Linked DNA regions of Homo sapiens: all the other regions are linked to region 1. The links are contacts of gene promoters, found by promoter capture Hi-C in blood cells and fetal thymus (Javierre and others, 2016). All regions are on one chromosome and are shown on one strand. The core of a region is centred on a gene start or on the middle of the fragment in contact, and the rest is flanking DNA. Distances in the headings are between cores, read along the strand shown. Region 1 holds the start of IDNK (IDNK gluconokinase). Region 2 overlaps FRMD3 (FERM domain containing 3). Region 3 overlaps KIF27 (kinesin family member 27). Region 4 overlaps FRMD3 (FERM domain containing 3). Region 5 overlaps FRMD3 (FERM domain containing 3).

Evidence for each region. Contacts are between HindIII fragments. The CHiCAGO score rates a contact against its expected background, and 5 or more counts as called.
Region 2: a fragment that was not itself captured here is called in contact with the fragment with the promoter of IDNK in region 1 in 1 of 17 cell types (neutrophils); the score reaches 6.3 in neutrophils.
Region 3: a fragment that was not itself captured here is called in contact with the fragment with the promoter of IDNK in region 1 in 12 of 17 cell types (naive CD8 T cells, non-activated CD4 T cells, total CD8 T cells and 9 more); the score reaches 14.4 in naive CD8 T cells.
Region 4: a contact is called between a fragment that was not itself captured here and the fragment with the promoter of IDNK in region 1, in 6 of 17 cell types (neutrophils, M0 macrophages, monocytes and 3 more). The highest score is 11.0, in neutrophils.
Region 5: a fragment that was not itself captured here is called in contact with the fragment with the promoter of IDNK in region 1 in 1 of 17 cell types (neutrophils); the score reaches 8.2 in neutrophils.

Annotation. Positions count from the first base shown.
Region 1 is chr9:83,621,124-83,624,946 of GRCh38, forward strand. It overlaps IDNK (IDNK gluconokinase), which reads left to right and starts at 2,020. Exons shown (of 5, transcript NM_001001551.4): 1 at 2,020-2,098. The coding sequence starts at 2,049. RefSeq lists a silencer at 1,715-2,244 and enhancers at 2,425-2,554, 2,575-2,624. The HindIII fragment of the contact is 10,566 bases long and covers 639-3,823 here.
Region 2 is chr9:83,315,887-83,319,709 of GRCh38, forward strand. All of the region lies in intron 6 of FRMD3 (FERM domain containing 3), which reads right to left. Among named protein-coding and RNA genes, the nearest start is that of FRMD3-AS1, 98 kb to the left of the region's middle. The HindIII fragment of the contact is 2,580 bases long and covers 669-3,248 here.
Region 3 is chr9:83,902,703-83,906,525 of GRCh38, forward strand. KIF27 (kinesin family member 27) reads right to left here. Exons shown (of 18, transcript NM_017576.4): 4 at 358-1,316. Among named protein-coding and RNA genes, the nearest start is that of KIF27, 17 kb to the right of the region's middle. The HindIII fragment of the contact is 2,403 bases long and covers 709-3,111 here.
Region 4 is chr9:83,332,102-83,335,924 of GRCh38, forward strand. FRMD3 (FERM domain containing 3) reads right to left here. Exons shown (of 14, transcript NM_174938.6): 6 at 3,415-3,538. Among named protein-coding and RNA genes, the nearest start is that of FRMD3-AS1, 110 kb to the left of the region's middle. The HindIII fragment of the contact is 7,328 bases long and covers 1-3,823 here.
Region 5 is chr9:83,358,043-83,361,865 of GRCh38, forward strand. The region is part of intron 3 of FRMD3 (FERM domain containing 3); the gene reads right to left. Among named protein-coding and RNA genes, the nearest start is that of FRMD3-AS1, 140 kb to the left of the region's middle. The HindIII fragment of the contact is 1,773 bases long and covers 1,297-3,069 here.

The sequences.
Region 1 (3,823 bases), core at 770-3,269:
TGAGCCCAGGAAATTGGCATGCATGGGCACCGCCGGACTCCCTAGCTCTCCACCTTCCAATTGGGTTTGGCTGGTGGGGTTTGGCCACGAGCAGGAGATCACAGGGCAAGAGGAGGGGAGGGGAGGTTATTTATTCTCCTGATTATTTTTCTGCTGGGTCAACAAGGAATGTCTATCTCTCTCTTCCTAAGGCTACAGTCCTGTCAGACACTTCTTTCTATATGGTCTATTCTCTCTGTCTCTCTCCTTCCATTCTCTTCCCTTCCCATATAAAGGCTCCCTCTCATCAGCCCCTTTCTATTTAAGAGTGAAAACACTTCTCGGTTACTCAGATGTGGACTCTGCCCCTAGTTGCTTTTTCTGACCCTACCCACACCTGTGCTAATAGTCCCTTTGTTAAATCCTGTTCACCTGCCCCAATTTGAGCATGCTGTTTCCTGCCACCACCCTGAGCAGCACAGCAAGTTTAAGATCCTTGGACATGTCTGGGGAAAGAAATCCAAGGAGAAGAATCAGATTTTCTGCTAATCATTCTGATTTGAACATTGAAAGAAATATGAGCTTTTTTTTTTCATACTGAGCTAGCGAAGCAGGGCACGAGTTAAGAGTATTTGCATACACATCTATTCCTCTTATCAAGCTTGAGAATGCCTAGAGGGTAATCTTTTAAATGAATATTAATATGATATTAACCAGCACATGGTAGATGTTCAAGAAATGTGTATTGACCATAACTGAATTGTAAGACCTCTCTCCAAGCCTCAATTTCTTCACCTGTACAGCCCCCATCCAGATTGAAATCTCACCTACTCGGGCTAAGTATATGAAAAACAAAGGCAGTGCAGGGGTAATTGAACTATTCATTAGATAAATGCTTTTATGTCACTTTTATTGTTTTCTAGGACACAGAGTAATACCTACCTTGGTTAACAAAAGACCAAAGGAGGTGATGCCAAATGCGGTTAGAAGTGCTTTTAATCACTTTGGGAGGCCGAGGCGGGTGGATCATGAGGTCAGGAGATCGAGACCATCCTGGCTAACAAGGTGAAACCCCGTCTCTACTAAAAATACAAAAAAAATTAGCCGGGCGCGGTGGCGGGCGCCTGTAGTCCCAGCTACTCGGGAGGCTGAGGCAGGAGAATGGCGTGAACCCGGGAAGCGGAGCTTGCAGTGAGCCGAGATTGCGCCACTGCAGTCCGCAGTCCCACCTGGGCGACAGAGCGAGACTCCGTCTCAAAAAAAAAAAGAAGTGCTTTTAATCAAATAGTTCAAACGACACATAATTAACATTGTTTTAAAGCAAATGGACACTTTAAAGTGGTGCTCCTTCCTCTTAAAGCCCCAACCAGTGCTGGATTTAACAGCAGAGCCATACAGCCAAGACATATGCTGCTACGGTCAACACTCAACCCTAAGTTTGACACCAAAAGATGGCCGCCATTTATTATTGTGACAAAAGGCCAGATTACAAAACGCTGTGTACGGCCTGATCCCAGTTTTACAAAATACTCATACCCATCTATCTACGACGGGGCGCGGGGAAAGGGGAGTCGTTTTAGGAAGTGCTGCTTATTGCTGCCTGGTGTGGGAAATTATGAGTCTTATTTTCTGTTTATTCTTTTTACAAGAACATTTTTATAAATGAATGAATGAATGCTTTCCATGGGTGGATGAGGATCCGGCCTGCCAGGGTGAGGATCCTCTGGAACCAAGAGGGGCCGGGGCAGTAGAACGACAGGTGGCGGGGCTTTGGGCGGCTCCCTCCAGCCCAGGGAGACGCGAGTGCCAGGCCGGGCGCGCGCTTCACTTCCGGGAAGAGGAAAGAGGGAGGGGAGGGGAGAGGAAAAGAAGGGGCAGGAGAGAGAGGCCGGGAGGTTGGGAAAGGGAGGAGGAAAGCATGGAAAAGGGGCGCGGGAAAACGGGGAGGGCGCAGAGGGGCACGGCCCTCACTGCCCCGGCCGGGGCGAGAGCGGCTCCGCCCCTCGAGCGCCGGGTAGGCCGGGGCCGGCGGGGCCCGGAAGGCGACGGGAAGGAGCCGAGCTTGGGTTATGGCGGCGCCGGGCGCGCTGCTGGTGATGGGCGTGAGCGGCTCGGGGAAGTAGGTCCGGGAGAGGGCGGGGGGCGCCCGGGACAAGTGTTGCGGGCGCGGCGGAGGCCGGACGCGTCGCCGTCCCTGCCGGTGGACTGGGGTCTTGGGGACCCCCCACCCTTCCCTTTGCAGATGAAGAAACCGAGGCCCGCGGCTGCCGCGCCCTCTCCCCGCCCTCCAGCCTGCTCGCGGGGCGCCCATCCTGGGACCGCATCCGAGCTCCGGGTTCCCGCTCTAAGACGGGGAGGCTGCGGCGACCGCAGGCTCAGGGAGGAAGCCGCTCCTGAACAGGCGGCTGCGGGGCCGCGCAGGTGGAGGCCTAGCGAGCGGCGCGGGGCTAGGTTTCGGGGCGCCTTGTCGGGGCCAGGCGGGAGGGCGCACGGCCTCTAGCGAGAGGACGCAAACCACGGCCCAGGCTCTCACAGACCTTTGGCCATCTGGACACACAGCGGCCTCCTCCTATGAGGCCCTGGACTTCTCCGATTCAATTTTGGAAAGTGAATCGTTTTCCCCTTCCTTTCATCAGCTTAACCTGGAAGGAGACAGCGTTAATATGGAGGGTGGCTCCTGAGGGTTTGGAAAGAAAGAAGAGAATTGTGGAAACCACAGAGGTAGCCCAGTGTGCTAACCTGGAGACTGAGGAGTTAACATTTGGCTTCCTGTTTAAACCAAAGTCTAACTGTGCCCTTTATCAGAAAAGACAGCTGCTGTACCATTCGACCACAGGCAGCAAAGGACAGAACTTGATCAGCTAAAACATCATAACCTTCAAGGGCCTATAGGACCCTTCTAGAATTTTCTGAATCAGGAACGGCCCATGTTGTGGCCTGTGTAGTCAGGTGTATATTAAAGATTTACTCCAGGTAGATGGGTTTTGCTTTCCAAAATTATTGTAGGGTTCTCAGCCACAAAGATAAAAAGAAATCTTGAACTGCAATTGAAATAAAACATGGAGCCCCCAAATCCCTAGCTGCCATATGATTTGAATCAGTTGGAGAATGTAAAATCATTGCCATGGTGTGATGTAACAGGAGTGAAGAGCCCTAGGTCTTGGTTCTGTTGCTGTCTGGCTGTGTGAGCCTGGGCAGTTCATGTACCCCCTCTGAGTCTTGAATCAGATGAGGGAGGCCTAATCCCTATGATGTATAGCTTGTGATATTCATGTACTCAGTAATTATTGAGCTCAATCCTTACTCTATGTCATTGTCATATAGCGAACAGGACAGATAAAATCCCTGCCCTCAAAGGATTTACATTCTGGTATGGGAGACAGAGTAAATGAATATATGTAGTGTGTGAGTTGGTGATAGATGCTCTGGAGTAAGGGGAACAAAGAGTGCCAGGCAGAGTGGTCAGGGATGTCTCCTCTGGGGGAGTGGCGTTTCAGCAAAGACCTGCAAGACTTGAGGAACCTGCCATGTGGATAGCTGAGGAAAGGGCAGGACAGGCAGAGGGAATGGCAGGTGCAATGGTTCTGAGGCTTAGCTTCTTTTGTTTTTTTTTTGTTTTGTTTTGTTTGAGGCGGAGCTTCACTCCTGTTGCCCAGGCTGGAGTGCAGTGGTGCAATCTTGGCTCAATGCAACCTCCTCCTCCCGGGTTCAAGCAATTCTCCTGCCTCAGGCTCCTAAGTAGCTGGGATTATAGGCGCCCACCACCATGCACAGCTAATTTTTTGTATTTTTAGTAGAGACGGGGTTTCATCATGTTGGCGAGGCTGGTCTCAAACTCCTGACC
Region 2 (3,823 bases), core at 709-3,208, 310 kb before region 1:
TTGCTTCAAATGTAGTTGCCCACTCACTGTGATGGCTGTTGTGTGTATTCCTGGAGGCACCCAGAAACCCAGAACCACTGCTATTCTAAGTCTGTGTCTGGCCTGGATCCCTTCTGTTTCCTATCTTCCACAGATGTTGCAGGATTTCTGATCCAAAGATGATATTTTCTCCTATTCCTTTTCTAATGCTTTTCCTGTTATCCATAAGGACTCGGTGAAGGAAAGGAAGATTGACATATATGCCACCTTATTCTTTTTTCTCTTTTTTTTTTTTCTTTTTTTTTTTTTTTGAGACAGAGTCTCACTCTATTGCCCAGGTTGGAGTGCAGTGGTGCAATCTCAGCTCACTGCAACCTCTGCCTCCCAGGTTCAAATGATTCTCCTGCCTCAACCTCCGGAGTAGCTGGGATTACTGGTGCCCGCCACCACACCCAGCTAATTTTTGTTTTTAGTAGAGATGGGGTTTCGACATGTTAGCCAGGCTAGTCTTGAAGTCCTGATCTCAAGCAATCCACCTGCCTCAGCCTCCCAGAGTGCTGGGATTGCAGGCATGAGCCACTTCACCTGGCCACCTTTTTCTTTTAATAGAAAAGATCATTTTTAAAGCCATCTACAGAATACTCCTGAGGAATTAAGTCAAATTTGTGCTTTAGAAAAATAAAGTCTAAAGCTTTTCAAGATTTCCTTATTCATTTTAGTGTTCTGAAATTTCACTGTGATATATGTATATAGAGAATATCTTTATGTATTCATCCCAATCAGTACTTGTGGGCACTTTCGATCCAGCAATTACTATCTTGGGCCATTTCTTTGATTCTTTTCTTTTCAAGACACAGTCATTATAATTTTTTCCTTTTGATAAAGTAACAATGGACTCAGGAAAATTAACAACTATATTGACAGGGATGGGAAAAGAGATCTCTGGAAGGTTTTCTTAATCCATATGGTATTTCTCTCTCCATCTCTCTCATAAGTTCTTGAAGTAATATCTTACTCTCCACCAACAAATAAACCATACAGAAAATTATTGAAGTCAGGCTTGGTGCAGTGGCTCATGCCTGTTATCCCCACACTTTGGGAGGCTAAGGTGGGAGGATCACTTGAGCCCAGAAGTTCAAAACAAGCCTGGCAATGTAGCAAGGTCACTTCTAAAAAAATTTTTTTTTAAATTAGCCAGATATTGTGCACTATGATCGTGCCACTGTCCTTCAGCCTGGGTGGCAGAGCAAGAAAGATCCTGTCTTAAAAAAAAAATACAGAAAACAAACTTATTGAATTCACATATTATTGAGCCGTCTCTCATGCATACACACACACACACACACACACACACACACACACTCATTTGTATACTCATCTCACCTTCCCAACTAGGGACAAAGCAGTCAAAATACCCAGCATGTCACTAAGCAGCAACCCACTCTTCTGGCCCTCAATGCAAAACTTCACCCTAACGACCCAGACCAAGACCAAAGTGAACCAGGACCAGAGCCAAAGCAGCCCTGTGCCTCCCATAGCCTTGGGCAATCAGCTTTGCTCGGGGTGATCCTCCCAGTTTACTTGAAAGGCCCTCATTCTACCACCCACTAATAAGTACTCCTCTGATCTACAGAGCTAGCCATTCTCATTATTCATTGAACTGTCACCACCTTTCTAAAAGCTACATGTCATTTATTCATAAAACTCAAGTTTGTTTTCAAAGCATACCCTCTTCAATATAGGAACAAGATAATTGTGAAAGGTTATCATTTGGATGTTCACTTTGAAAAGTGAATAATTTTTCCTTGCCTAGGTGGTCTCTTTCTGACCACTTCCTTGTCCTTCCTAAATCTGATGAGCATCTAATTTCCAATCACAGCCAATCCCAGATGGCAGCAGGGTACCAGTGCTACACAGCCCCTGAGGACACACCCTTAAACTCTAGGACATCTGTTCATCAGGAGATACCAGCCAGGGTGGAAAAAGGCAAGCTACAGTATGGGAAAAGCTGTCAGCAACACGTACAACCAAAAAAGGACACCTATCTGGAATATTTTTTAAACTCCTGTAAATCAATAAAGAGCAACAAAATATGTTTCAAAACCAGTAACCACGACTCCAACCTCTGCACAATAAGCAAAAGACTTAATAGGCACTTACCAAATAGGACGTCTAACTAGCCAATAACTACATGAAAATGTGCTTAGCTTCTTATGATCAAGAAAATGTAAATTATTTTATTTAATTTTTAATGTCTATTTTCTATATATTTAGGAGGTACAAGTGCAGATTTCCTATGTGCATATATTCCATAGTGTTAAAGTCTGGGCTTTTAGTGCAACTATCACCCAAATAGTGAACACTGTAACCCTCACCTCCTCCCACCATCCCATATCTTGTACTTTCCAATGTCTATTACTCTCCTCTATATGCCCATGCGTCTTCATTGTTTAGTTCCAACTTATAAATGAGAACATGCAGTATTTGCCTTTTCTGTTTCTGAGTTATTTCACTAAGGATAATAGCCTCTGCTTCTATCCATGTTACTGCAAAAGACATGATCTCATTCCTTTTATGGTTCAATAGTATTCCATGCTATATATATTATATATAATATGTGTGTGTGTGTGTGTATATATATATATCACATTTTCCTTGTCCAGTTCTCCATTGATGGACACTTAGCTGATTCCATATATTTGCCATGGTGAATAGTGCTGTAATAAACATATGAGTGCCGGTATCTCTTTGATATGATGATTTATTTTCCTTTGGGTAGATATATATACACAAAGGGAAAATAGTGAGATTGCTGGATCAAATAGTAGTTCTATTTTTAGTTCTTTAAGAAATCTCCACACTGTTCCCCCAAAAAGTTGTTTTAATTTACATTCCTACCAACAGTTATAAGTGTTTTCTTTTCTCTGCATCCTTGACAACATCTGTTGTTTTTTGACTTTTTAGTAATAGTCTTTCTGACTGGTGTAAGATGGTCTCTCATTGTGGTTTTAATTTGCATTTCTCTGATGTTTAGTGATGTTGAACATTTTTTTCATGTTTCTTGGCCACTTGGATGTCTTCTTTTGAAAAATGGCCTTCAATGTTCTTTGCTCATTTTTTAAGGGGGGTTGTTTTTTTTCTTGTTGAGTTGTTTGAGTTCCATGTAAATTCCAGATATTAGCCCTTTGTCAGACCCATAGTTTGCAAGTATTTTTCCCATTCTGTAGGTTGTCTGTTTACTCTGTTAATTATTTCTTTTGCTGTGCAGAAGCTTTTTAGTTTAATTATGTCTCATTTGCCTATTTTTGTTTTGCTGCATTTTAGTTTAATTAAGTCCCATTTGCCTATTTTTGTTTTGTTGCATTTTAATTTGAGGAATTGGTCACAAATTCTTTGGTGAATGTCCAGAAGAGTTTTTCCTAGGTTTTCTTCTAGGATTTTTATAGTTCAAGGTCTTATGTTTAGGTCTTTAATCCATCTTGAGTTAATTTTTGTTTATGGTGAGATGTATGGGTCCAGTTTCACTCTTCTGCATGCAGCTATCAATTTTCCCAGGATTATTTATTTATTTATTTAAATGGAGTCTTGCTCTGTCACCCAGGCTGAAATGCAGTGGCATGATCTTGGCTCACTGCAACCTCTGCCTCCCAGGTTCAAGGGATTCTCCTGCCTCAGCCTCCTGAGTAGCTGGGATTACAGGCATGTGCCACCAGGTCCAGCTAATTTTTGTACTTTTAGTAGAGATGGGGTTTCACCATGTTGGCCATGCTGGTCTTGAACTCCTGACCTCAAGTGACCATGTGTTGTGGGAGCAACCCAGTGGGAGATGATTGAATCATGGGGT
Region 3 (3,823 bases), core at 660-3,159, 280 kb after region 1:
CAACCAGGTCCACAAAGTTCTATTTAATAAATATAACAAATTAAAATACACTTTAACCAAAGGAGAAAGGAGGAGGAGCCAAGAAGGGTATGAATTGTGAGGAGGAAGCAATAGGAAAGGGGAGGGTAGAAAGAACAAAGTAAGAGAGGCAAGTGGGATTCCATATATAAATCATTTTTTAAAAAAACCTGAAATTCCAAAATCACTCTTAGAATTTACTTGCCCAAATAAATTTAGTCCTTAAAAGAGTTATCCATAACAATGTCTAAATATGTTAACACATGTACCCCCAAAATATGTACATCTATTATGTATCAATAAAATAAATAAATAAATAAATAAGTGATGTCTAAGTACCTGGCATTTCTTAAGCTCTCTCTTCAGCTGGAGAACTGTAACATGCTGTGGTCCTTCTTCCAGACTTGCAGTGCCTCCGATTCCTCGAAATGAGGTGAGGACAGCCTTCCTGACCTCTTGGATCATGTTAAACCACTCCTGCAGTTTGTGTTGCTGCTTTTCGTTTAGTCTGACAGTATCTTTTAGGTCAACCAGGAAGGTAAAGGCTTCTTCTACACAACACTGGTAACCCAGACATTCTCCTTGAAGCTGAGCTACTTGCTCCTCAAGAGAATGAATCCTATTTGTATCAGGACTCCCTTCTCGATTGATCTGGGTAGTTTGGCTGACACCAGCCTGCTGGCTTTGCAAAGCTTCTCGAAGCAATTTAATCTCAAATTCCATTTCATCTATACGGTCTGACTCGGGGCTGAAGTTTACAGTGGGTTTGTTTCTAATGTTCCGTGCTCTGTTGGCATATTTGAGAGAATTTAAGGACTCATCAAAATTCGAGGAGGAGGGGCTGACACATGTGATCATGACAGTCTTAGCACTGCCTCCCAGAGAATCTTTCAGAAGCCGGGTAATTTTAGCATCCCTATATGGAATATGTGAACTCTTCCTGCGTGGGTCCCCAAGAGCGCTTATTACATTTCCTAAAGCCAGCAATCCACTATTGATTTGAATGGATTCTTTGAACCGTTCACCAGTATTCCCCGTTTTGGTTACTCTTTCTGATCCTGCCAAATCCACAAAGTGGAACTTTGAGACAATATGCCGAGGGGAATACCATGATCCATCTTCAGCTGCCTCCATATTTTTATGAACTTGACAAATGCTGATTGTAAAAATTGCATGTGATCTGCTGGAGTGCTCATTCATTTGAGTGGTACCTGTATGTCTGGCTGCATTCCCCATCTCCAAAAGACTCATCACTTCACCTGCACTCTCCACATGGCATTCCTTGGCCCCAACAATCACTTAAAATAGTAATAACATGTTTTTAAGCCAAGTTTTCATCAAAACCTAGTATAGTTAACAGTTACCATTTGCTAAACAGCCTGGCCAAGATAGTCCCTTTTTTAAAAAGTCAACAGCATTTCAGATAATAATAATAACATCAGCAACATCATCAAATAATTTTGGATAATCTCCCAAAGAAACTATTTTAACAGACAGCACTTATTTTGATGTTTATATTCTAAAAGCTACAATTTTTTGAAAAAACAATCTAGTTTATCTTGAGTCATGAGTCACACTCAATTCCTTAAAATGACTGACAAAAGAAAAACCCTTCATTCCAGTCTTTTGATTTGTAAAGCCTAATAGATTAATCCTTTTTTTTTTCTTGAGACGGAGTCTCGGCCTGTTGCCCAGGCTAGAGTGCAGTGTCACAATCTTGGCTCACTGCAACCTCTACCTCGGGTTCAAGTGATTCTCCTGCCTTAGCCTCCCGAGTAGTTGGGATTACAGGCATGCGCTACCACACCTGGCTAATTTTTTTGTATTTTTAGTAGAGATGGGGTTTCACCACGTTGGCCAGGCTGGTCTTGAACTCCTGACCTCAGGTGATCCACCTGCCTTGGCCTCCCAAAGTGCTGGGATAACAGGTGTGAGCCACTGCACCTGGCCTAGATTAATCTTTTATAAATTAATCAAATATATAATTCAAAAAAGTTAATCAGTAGATTAGAAGAATTAATTAGTATCAATTAAAAGGCATTCGTTTTTTTTTTCAGTTTTGTTAATAATCAAGCCATCCTTAGCTTTTATGTTTTTTGGTATCGTGAGGTCATAATCAATGAAGAGTAAAAAATTCAATACAAATAAAGTTGGTTATTCATTTTAAAAATAGGTATGGTTTATAAATAAAGTTGGTTATTCATTTTAAAAACAGGTATCTGTTTACCTTGCATCAGAGTGCAAGGTAAACAGATGAGATGGCAATTAAAAGAAAACACTTTGAACACCATAATGTACCATACTCAAAAAAGAAAAAAAAGTTTTTATTTCAATCGCAGAATGAACTAAAAATAACCTACATTTACTACCCGCATTATTTGTTTATATCCAAAAATATTTCTTTTTTTTTTTTTCTTGAGATGGAGTCTCGCTCTGTCCCCAGGCTGGAGTGCAGTGGCGCAATCTCAGCTCACTGCAAGCTCCGCCTCCCGGGTTCACACCATTCTCCTGCCTCAGCCTCCTGAGTAGCTGGGATTACAGGCGCCCACCACCACGCCTGGCTAATTTTTTGTATTTTTAGTACAGACGGGGTTTCACTGTGTTAGCTAGGATGGTCTCGATCTCCTGACCTCGTGATCCACCTGCCTCGGCCTCCCAAAGTGCTGGGATTACAGGCGTGAGCCACCGCACCCGGCCTATATCCAAAAATATTTCAAAGAGAAGTAGGTGGACTTAGGAATTGAATCAGAGAAGAAAAGCTCCTGATTTCATGCTCAAATTATATTGCCATAATTCCTCTTTACTCAGATACTGTCACATCACTATTTCTTTAAAAAATAATCATTTCAGTTTCATTATTTCCATCATGACACTTTTTAAACAACCCAGTTCATTTAAAGTCCTGTAAGTCATAGTAAAACTTTCATTAAATTTTTCCAGTGTTAGGCTATAAGTTAGCACTATGGTTCTCGAATCCAGATGCAAATCACCTGGTAGCTTTATAAAAAGAAAGTGCCAATGCCCAGGTACCATCTCAGACCAATTAAATCAGAATCCCTGTGAAGTAGGACCCAGAAATCAGTATTTTTAAAAAGCTTCCCACGTGTACTAATTGTGTGGCAGCCAGCATGGACATCACTGCTTCACACAGAGATTCTAAAGAAATATGTCAAACAAATGCACTTTACTTGTAAGTGGGACATTATGTAAGACATACTGTAATTTAAGATCATTTGTAACATCCTTCCAAAATTTTTTCAGCATTGATATCAGATATGAAGTATTTTGATCAAGTTTATCAAGAGTGATGGTGAAGTGTATATACTTCTATCCTGCTTGATATTTTACAAAGAAGCATGTATTATTTTTGTAACTCTTTAATAAAAGATGAAAACATTCAATAATTGTATTCCATAAGATAAAGGAGCTCAAAACATCAGTATGAATTCTATCCAGAAGAGATAAACTGTACTGAATTATCTAATAAGACCATAAGCTACCATATATAGTTTCTTCTTAAAAAACAAAAACAAATACAATTTCCTCAACCATGCAGGAATGCCAGGACAGGGCTATAAAGATGCAAGATTTGCTGCCTCCTATAGCCTGCTATTTGAATGACTAAAGCCATCTTACTTTCCTAACTTTCCTAACTGCTAGGAAATTCCCTCCTCTGGCAGGTTCTCCAGGAAGGTTCCACTAAATATGGTTTTTAGGGGAAGAAGACATCCAAGAATAGGCCAGGCATGGTGGCTCACCCCTGTAATTCTAGCACTTTGGGAGGCCAAAGCAGGCAGATCTCTTG
Region 4 (3,823 bases), core at 771-3,270, 290 kb before region 1:
GCTCTAAGCCACTGAGCATTGGGTGTTTGTTTCCTCAGCAAAATCTAACTGATCTTGACTGAAATAGAGATGATCGATAACTATAACATGCTACTATATTTGCAAGACTGTTGCTTCTCCCTATCCTCCAGTACAGTGAAGGACTCAGAAGAAGAAACATTGATCCAAGCATGAACTTTTACCTTCAGTCATCAATCTAATTTAGTTCATGAAAATTCTTCTTAAAATCTTGGTCTTCTTAAAACTCCAAGGAAGAGTCAGTCTCTCTCTCTCTCTTTCTCTCTCTCTCTCTCTCTCCCCCCACCATCCCCCAAAGAACTCTGTTATTCTTGCCTATCTATCAGGCCATCTTGGTCCCACCTTCAAGCAGTCTGTAGCCTCCCAGAGAGGAAATTTCTTTTTTCTCTCTCATTAATTTTCTGCCAAGAATGGTGACTTTTTTTCCTCTCTCAGAGATCACAGGAGCAGAATAATCCTAATCAATAAAAAGGCTGGGAGAAGGTTGTGAAACCACCCCCTCCTGAGGTAAACATGTTGATCTCCCTGTAAATCATCATTTCTGCTAATATTTGAGCACCTGTTGTGTTTTATTTCTCAGCTGATTCAGAAAGCAGGAAGGAAGAAGGAGGTTATTTATTGGGTCCCTCAAACCCCAACAAAAGCCAACTGGAATCCTCTCAGGAAGTCTTCAGAACAGCAGTTCGATGGCCACACACCATCCCTAGCTAAGTGGGAGGGTCACGGGTGTTGTGGTGACTCTGGAGAGCAGGATGGCCATGGTTTGGTGCAGCCAAGCACAGGTCTTCTCCATCCATGACTCCTTCCTGGCTTGGTCAGGTTTGCAGAGTAATTCAACCAAGGCCCAATTCCTTACACAAGACAGATAACACTTTCTTGACCTGTGTATGAAGGGGTGGTGGCACCCCCAGAGCACCTTCAGTCCCTGTAGCAGGTTTCCCAACAGACGCAAGAAAGCTCCTCTCCCTCTGCACTGTCAGCCTCTTCTGCTCTTCTTGTCTTACCCTCCAAACCAAAAGTATCTCTCTGCTGCACTGATGCTGAATGAAATACAGAACTACTTAGAATGAGCAAAAATACACAGGGAAATAGCCCCTGAAGCTGTCCTTGCAAGGTGATATGATTCCTGACAGGTTCATCCTTCAGGCATACAACTCCCAACTCTTCACAAAGGCTTAATGGATGTTTCAAATGTGCAGGACCACATGTGCCATAGAATGGCAGCTTTGATCAAACCACAGAACTTACTTCCAAGATTTATAAAGTGCGAGTGACTGATGACCCCCGTCTTCCCTGAGTGCATGATGACCACTTTCAGTGATCTCCACAAGCTCAGGTGCTGGCCCAGGGTCCAAGCTACAGCTTTCTGAATGTTAATAAAACAACTTGGAATCTTCTGTGATTCACTCATTTTCTCATGAAATTGTGGATCACCAAGTCTGGCTGCAACGCCTCTCATGACTCTCTTCTTTCAATTTCCTTTACTCCTATTCTTTTTCAGGTCCTTCCCGTTTCTTGTCTGAATACCAGAAATTACTAACTGGCCCTCCTGCCCTGGTTCTCCATCCTCAGGCACCGCTGACATGGTGATCACCGTGAAACACCTACCCGACTACCTGATTCCCTTTAAACGCTCAACAAAGGGAGAAGAGCATGGGCATACCTTGAGCCAGGTAACCCAAGGTTCAAGTCCTGACTCCACTATTTACAAAGCACAAGTCCTTTAACCACTTCAGCTTGTACTTTCCTCATCCCACACTAGAAAGAACAATAGCGCCCATCTAATAGAGTTTGGGAGAACTGAGTGGGATAATGCACTTAAAGCTCTTAGCACAATGTTTTGGCATCTAGTAAGTAAATGCTCAATAAGTGTATATTATTATCCTATGTTCTGAGCGTTAGAGGCCCTGCAAATTCAGGGCATAGAAAACCTTTCCATTCCCATCTCCTATCAATTCAAACAGTGGGTGCAACTCCTTCATCCAGGGATTCTCACCCTGTGCTCCCCGGAACACTGCTCTGCCACAAACCCCTCCACAAAAATATCGAACTTTATTTCTACCTCTAGTACATTTGTCTCCAAAATAGCAAAAGAGTAGTGAGAATTTCATGTATCTTCAACAAGGCTTTTCATTAGGAGACAATACTCTAAAATTACCCACATAGATGGCCTGTTGCTTTCTGAAAGTAGTACAATGTTTTGATGTCTAATCATCTTTATCTCTAAGACTAAGCGTCATATTTTCCCAGCTGAAATAAGCTGCCACCTTGAATGCCCTCACATATACTCTTCCCAGACTCACCAGTAGGGGGCGCGCCTGCATAAAGGAGGGAGCTAGAACAATTTCCTCACACCGGGACAGTTGTCTGTTCCAGAATGCATAATCCAATGATGCAATTTTCTTTATACTTACCAGAGGCCTAGAACATGGAAGCATCTCAGTTCTTGCAGTTTTTCATCAACACTTGTCATAACACTGCCCATGCTTGCTATTACCAAAATGATTTTTTTTTCTGTAGTTTGCACAGTATCTAAATTCTAGCTACAGACTAGACTACTTGAATTACCTAAATTCCAAGTTGGCAATGATCCCTACACACACTTCATTTGATTCCCAGCAGCCCATGTAGAGTGTAACCATCACACAGGGCATAAAGGCACAGACTCTAGACCAAGACTGCCAGAATTCAAATCCCAGCTCTGATACTTACTAGCTGCGTGACCTTGGGTAGGTTGTTTAACCTCTCTGTGCCTCGGTTCCCTCATCTGTAATATGAGAATAACAATAACCTATCTCCTAGGTTGTTGTGAAGATTAAACGAGTTAATATGTGCAAAGTGCTTAGAACAGTGTTAGGAACGTGGTGAATGCTCTATGCAATTTTGCTTCTACCACTGCTACTGTGCAGCTATCATTGAAGCATCGCAGGTGAGAAAAAGAGGATCAGACACTAAATCTGTCATCTTGAAAGTAGCTCAGCAAAGGGAATCTTCCCAATGGATTCTATTCTACTTGGAGTCAATGCTTCCAGCTATGGCCACCGGTGGGAAAAAGGCAACACAAAATTCAAATCAGAAAGGTTTACTTATTTACCTTAGATTCCACTTTCAGAAGCTCAGGGTGTTTAGAAATCCATATGTGTAAGAAAATACATGGATCTAATAACTACTGATGGATCATAAACAGCCACTCATAGGACTCCAAACTGTTGAGATTGTTATTGACGGAGGACACCAGGGTGTCCTTGACAGTGCCCAGAAAAATTGCGCTGCCACGCAAAACAGCCTATCCATACATTACAAATATTCCTCCTTCACGATGTGATTTCCACATTCCCTGCAGTAAGAATATTTTCTCCCCTTTATCATTTTCACAAATGTCTACTCAGTAATTACCTGAGTTCATTTTTATGAATTTCCACTATTTTTCTTTCCAGCTTCTGTGACTGCTTGGGGAAAATCTCAAACTCACTGATGTAATTCTCAGGATGCTCATCAGGATCGTAATCACCAAGCTCAGCTGTAATGAGTGAAAAAATAAAGAGACAGAGAAAGATTAAAAACAATAACATGAGCAGGGTGCATATGGAGTGCCTCCTGCCATCCAAAAGAAGAGGCTGGAATAAACTCACCCAAAAATATGTATCTGTACCCAGAGAAAGCCTGAGTGTCTAGAGGCTCATATTCCAGTTCAGATCGAGCTGTGTGAGCTTGGGATCTTGAGAATCTTCTCTGGGTCTCGCCTTCTTTATCAGTATAATAAAGGATTTAAATTACTGTTTTTCAGTGGGGACACCATTGGCAT
Region 5 (3,823 bases), core at 933-3,432, 260 kb before region 1:
CTTCTAGAATCTTAATGGTTTCAGGTCTTAGATTTAAGTCTTTGATCCATCTTGAGTTGATTTTTGTATAAGGTGAGAGATGAGGATCCAGTTTCATTCTTCTATATGTGGCTTGCCAATTATCCCAGAACCATTTGTTGAACAGGGTGTCCTTTCCCCACTTTACGTTTTTGTTTGCTTTGTTGATCAGTTGGCTGTAAGTATTTGGCTTTATTTCTTGGTTTTCTATTCTGTTCCATTGGTCTATGTGCCTATTTTTATACCAGTACCATGCTGTTTGGTGACTATGACCTTATAGTATATAGTTTGAAGTCGGGTAATGTGATGCCTCCAGATTTTTTCTTTTTGCATAGTCTTGCTTTGTCTATGTGGGCTCTTTTTTGGTTCCATATGGTTTTTAGAATTGTTTTTTCTAGTTATGTGAAGAATGATGGTGGTATTTTGACGGGAATTACACTGAATTTGTAAATTGCCTTCGGCAGTATGGTCATTTTCACAATATTGATTCCATCCATCCATGAGCATGGGATGTGTTTCCGTTTGTTTGTGTTGTCTATGATTTCTTTCAGCAGTGTTTTGTAGTTTCCCTTGTAGAGGTCTTTCACCTCCTTGGTTAGGTATATTCTTAAGTATTTATTTATTTATTTATTTATTTATTTATTTATTTATTTGTAGCTATTGTGAAAGGGATTGAGTTCTTGATTTTATTCTCAGCTTGGTCACTGTTGCCTATATTCCTGTTGTGCACATGCCATGCACAGTGATGCCAATGGATTCAACTGTGCTGCATTCAATAATGATATGGTTCGAAAGCACAAACTACCTCTGCACATATGCAAAATGACGCTTGAGCACCTAAAGGGGAGAACATTGCTCACTCATTCTCCAACTGTGACTCTAGAAATATGTGTAAATAAGCCAGCCACAGAGAGTGCAGGCTGCATTCATGACTGCTCTCTTCTACATGGAAATGATTATAATCATTAAACAACAACTGTTACTATCAGCATCATCAGCAACAGTGATGATCCTTCCCCCACTCTTACTGAAATGATAATCACTGTGTTTCCCCAGCTTCCAAAGCAGAGACAGGTTTTTAAAATCATGTTTAATTCATCTTCCTCTCGTTACAGTTCCCTCCTATGCTTTTATCACACACAGGCATGCCCACCCACACTCGTAGGCACTGACTACAGTCACTCAGAGAACTCTCTTAAGGGAGATTGGAATGCTGAGTGGTTGCCTCACAAATCCTTGGTCTCTGAATTCTCTTCCTGCCTATGCCTGCTCAGGAGAAGCTTGAAAAGAGACTTTGGGGTCCCATACTTCTAACCTCAAGTTTGTCATTTGAACAAATTGCTGCGTCCAAACTTAAAACTCCCTGCCTCCATTTCCTCATCTGTAAAATGGGAATAATAATGGAACCAACCACAGAGAGCAGGGCATCAAACTTTCTCTGTAAAGGGCTAGAGAATAAATATTTTCAACTTTGGAAGGCTCGAGTTTTCTGTCTCAACGACTCCACCCAGTTGTTGTAGTAGAGAAGCAGCCACCACCAATACATAAACAAGTGTGTATAGCTGTGCTCCAATAAAACACTGAAGTTTGAATTTGTATCATTTTTGTATGCCACAAAAATCTTATATATCTTTTGGTTTTTTTCAACCATTTAAAAATGTGAAACCTATTCCTAGACCAAAGGCCATATGAACATAGGTGGTGACTAGGTGTGGCCTGCGACCCGTCGTAGAGACCACAATGAGGATGACATGAGTTCATGACTGCGTAGAGACCACAATGAGGATGACATGAGTTCATGACTGCAAAGCACTTCGCAGCCTGCTGAGACCTGTGGACTGAATGCATAGGAATTATTGTTACTCTAAAGTGCAGGGAAGAAACCAACATGGCTAAAGTCAAGTCCTTCAATGTTACCTTGCCTTTTACCTGGGTTGAAAGAGTGAGGGGGCACTGTCATCTCTCAGGGAGGAGTGAGGAAGAAGTGGGCATGAGACAGGTGTGTATATGAAGAGATATTTGGCAGCCCTGGCATCTAAAGGACAGCTTTGCTGCCTGAGCCGAGGGTACAATGACCTAAACATTTTAGCCAAAAGGTTAGCAAGAACACATGAAACTGAAGGCAAGAGACCCAGGAACCTGTTTGCTGCTGATGTTGTATAACTAGCCAGACCCTTGGAGTCATGTTGATAGGTGTAAATCAATATGTAGAAATAACAACTGTAACAGAAAAATTCAACTACTTACATAACTTGGTATTGAGATTTGATACTATAAAGTTGCATCCAAAAATCAGGCATTATAAAGGCTCTCCCACCAAAGGGAGACATGAACAAAGCCTTCCTACCCACTTGGCCCACACTTGAACCACCTCTAGTACTCACATACCGAGCATGGAACCTCCTGCCCATCATGGTTATCATTCAGACACTCATGCTGCCAGCATGTGTAGTTTTGAGTCGTGTGGGCCCCTAAGAAAGAATGCGGGCATTCCTGAAGGAAGAAGAAAGCCCCTGAAAGTACTGCCCCAGAGATATAAGGACTTCCCCCAGGAGAGGCTCCTATTCCTTCTGCTTCCTCCACTACCCCTGTCACACTACCCCGCTTCCCACGAGGAGTGCTAGGTACTCCCTGAAACCCCTGCACACACTACTGCACCCAATCAAAATGATGTCAGTGTTGCCACCAACCATTGCATAAGCATAAAGTTAAAAATTAGAAATCTATGGCTTGTCAAGTGTGCACATCATTTAGAACTGCATGCTATAAAATTAAGGGTTTTTGTCATTACTATTGTTACTGTCCTCTCCTTCCATATTGGGAAACAAAGAAAGAGCACAACATGGAAACCATTTATAGGCTCAAATTGCATTAACTTTCTGGGAGAAGGATCAAATATAAAAATTTTGATGAACAGTTGAACTTGGTAGAATAACAGATACCTGGCCCAACCTAATGAGCTGTCTCTAGAACAAGGTAAGCAAACAGGTGTCCAACGCTGGAGACACTCCATGGCTGAAACAAAAATCATAGCTGCTCTTCTTGGAAAGAAGCTTTGGAAGAAGAAAACTGGGAAGAACAAAGGCATCCAAAACTAAACCATAGTACTTGGGGACTTTGTACTTTTTGATTTATGTAATGAGCTGTGTTCAGTTGTATGTTTTGCTTTTTTTTGTAAAAAAATAGCATTTGAACTTCCACCTGTGCTGTAAAAAGAGCATTTTAATCCTAGTCAGAAAGCATTTATTATGAATCAATAACATGCATAACATTTTATACAAAGCCATGGAACAGGTGAAGAAATTTTCCAAACCCAGTGCTGGAGATTATGATTAGACAAGTAGGTTATACGAATGAGGATGATAGCATAGGCTGCCCCTCACTCTGGAGGCAGGGTTACAGCCACAACAGGGATTGGAAGAAATGAATTGTGCAAAGCTTTACTGTCAAAAGCATGTGACCAAGGTCAGCAAAACAGAACAACATACACAAAGGGGGCTAGAGGTAGTAAGCTAAAGAAAGAGGCTAAAGAAAAATGCTGAGAGTACTGGAGATCTAAAAAACCCATGTCCACCTAGAACCTCAGAATGGAACCCTATTTGGAAATAGGGTCTTTGTAGATGTAATTGATTAATTAATTACAATGCATTCATATTAGGTTAGGGTGGTCCCTAAATCCATTGACTGATATCTTTATAAGAGAAAGGAGAGTGAGACTTTGACACAGGGCACAGAGAAACATAGGGAGGCACCATGTGAAGATGGAGGCAGAGTGTGGAGTGAGGCAGCTACAAGCCAAGGAAGG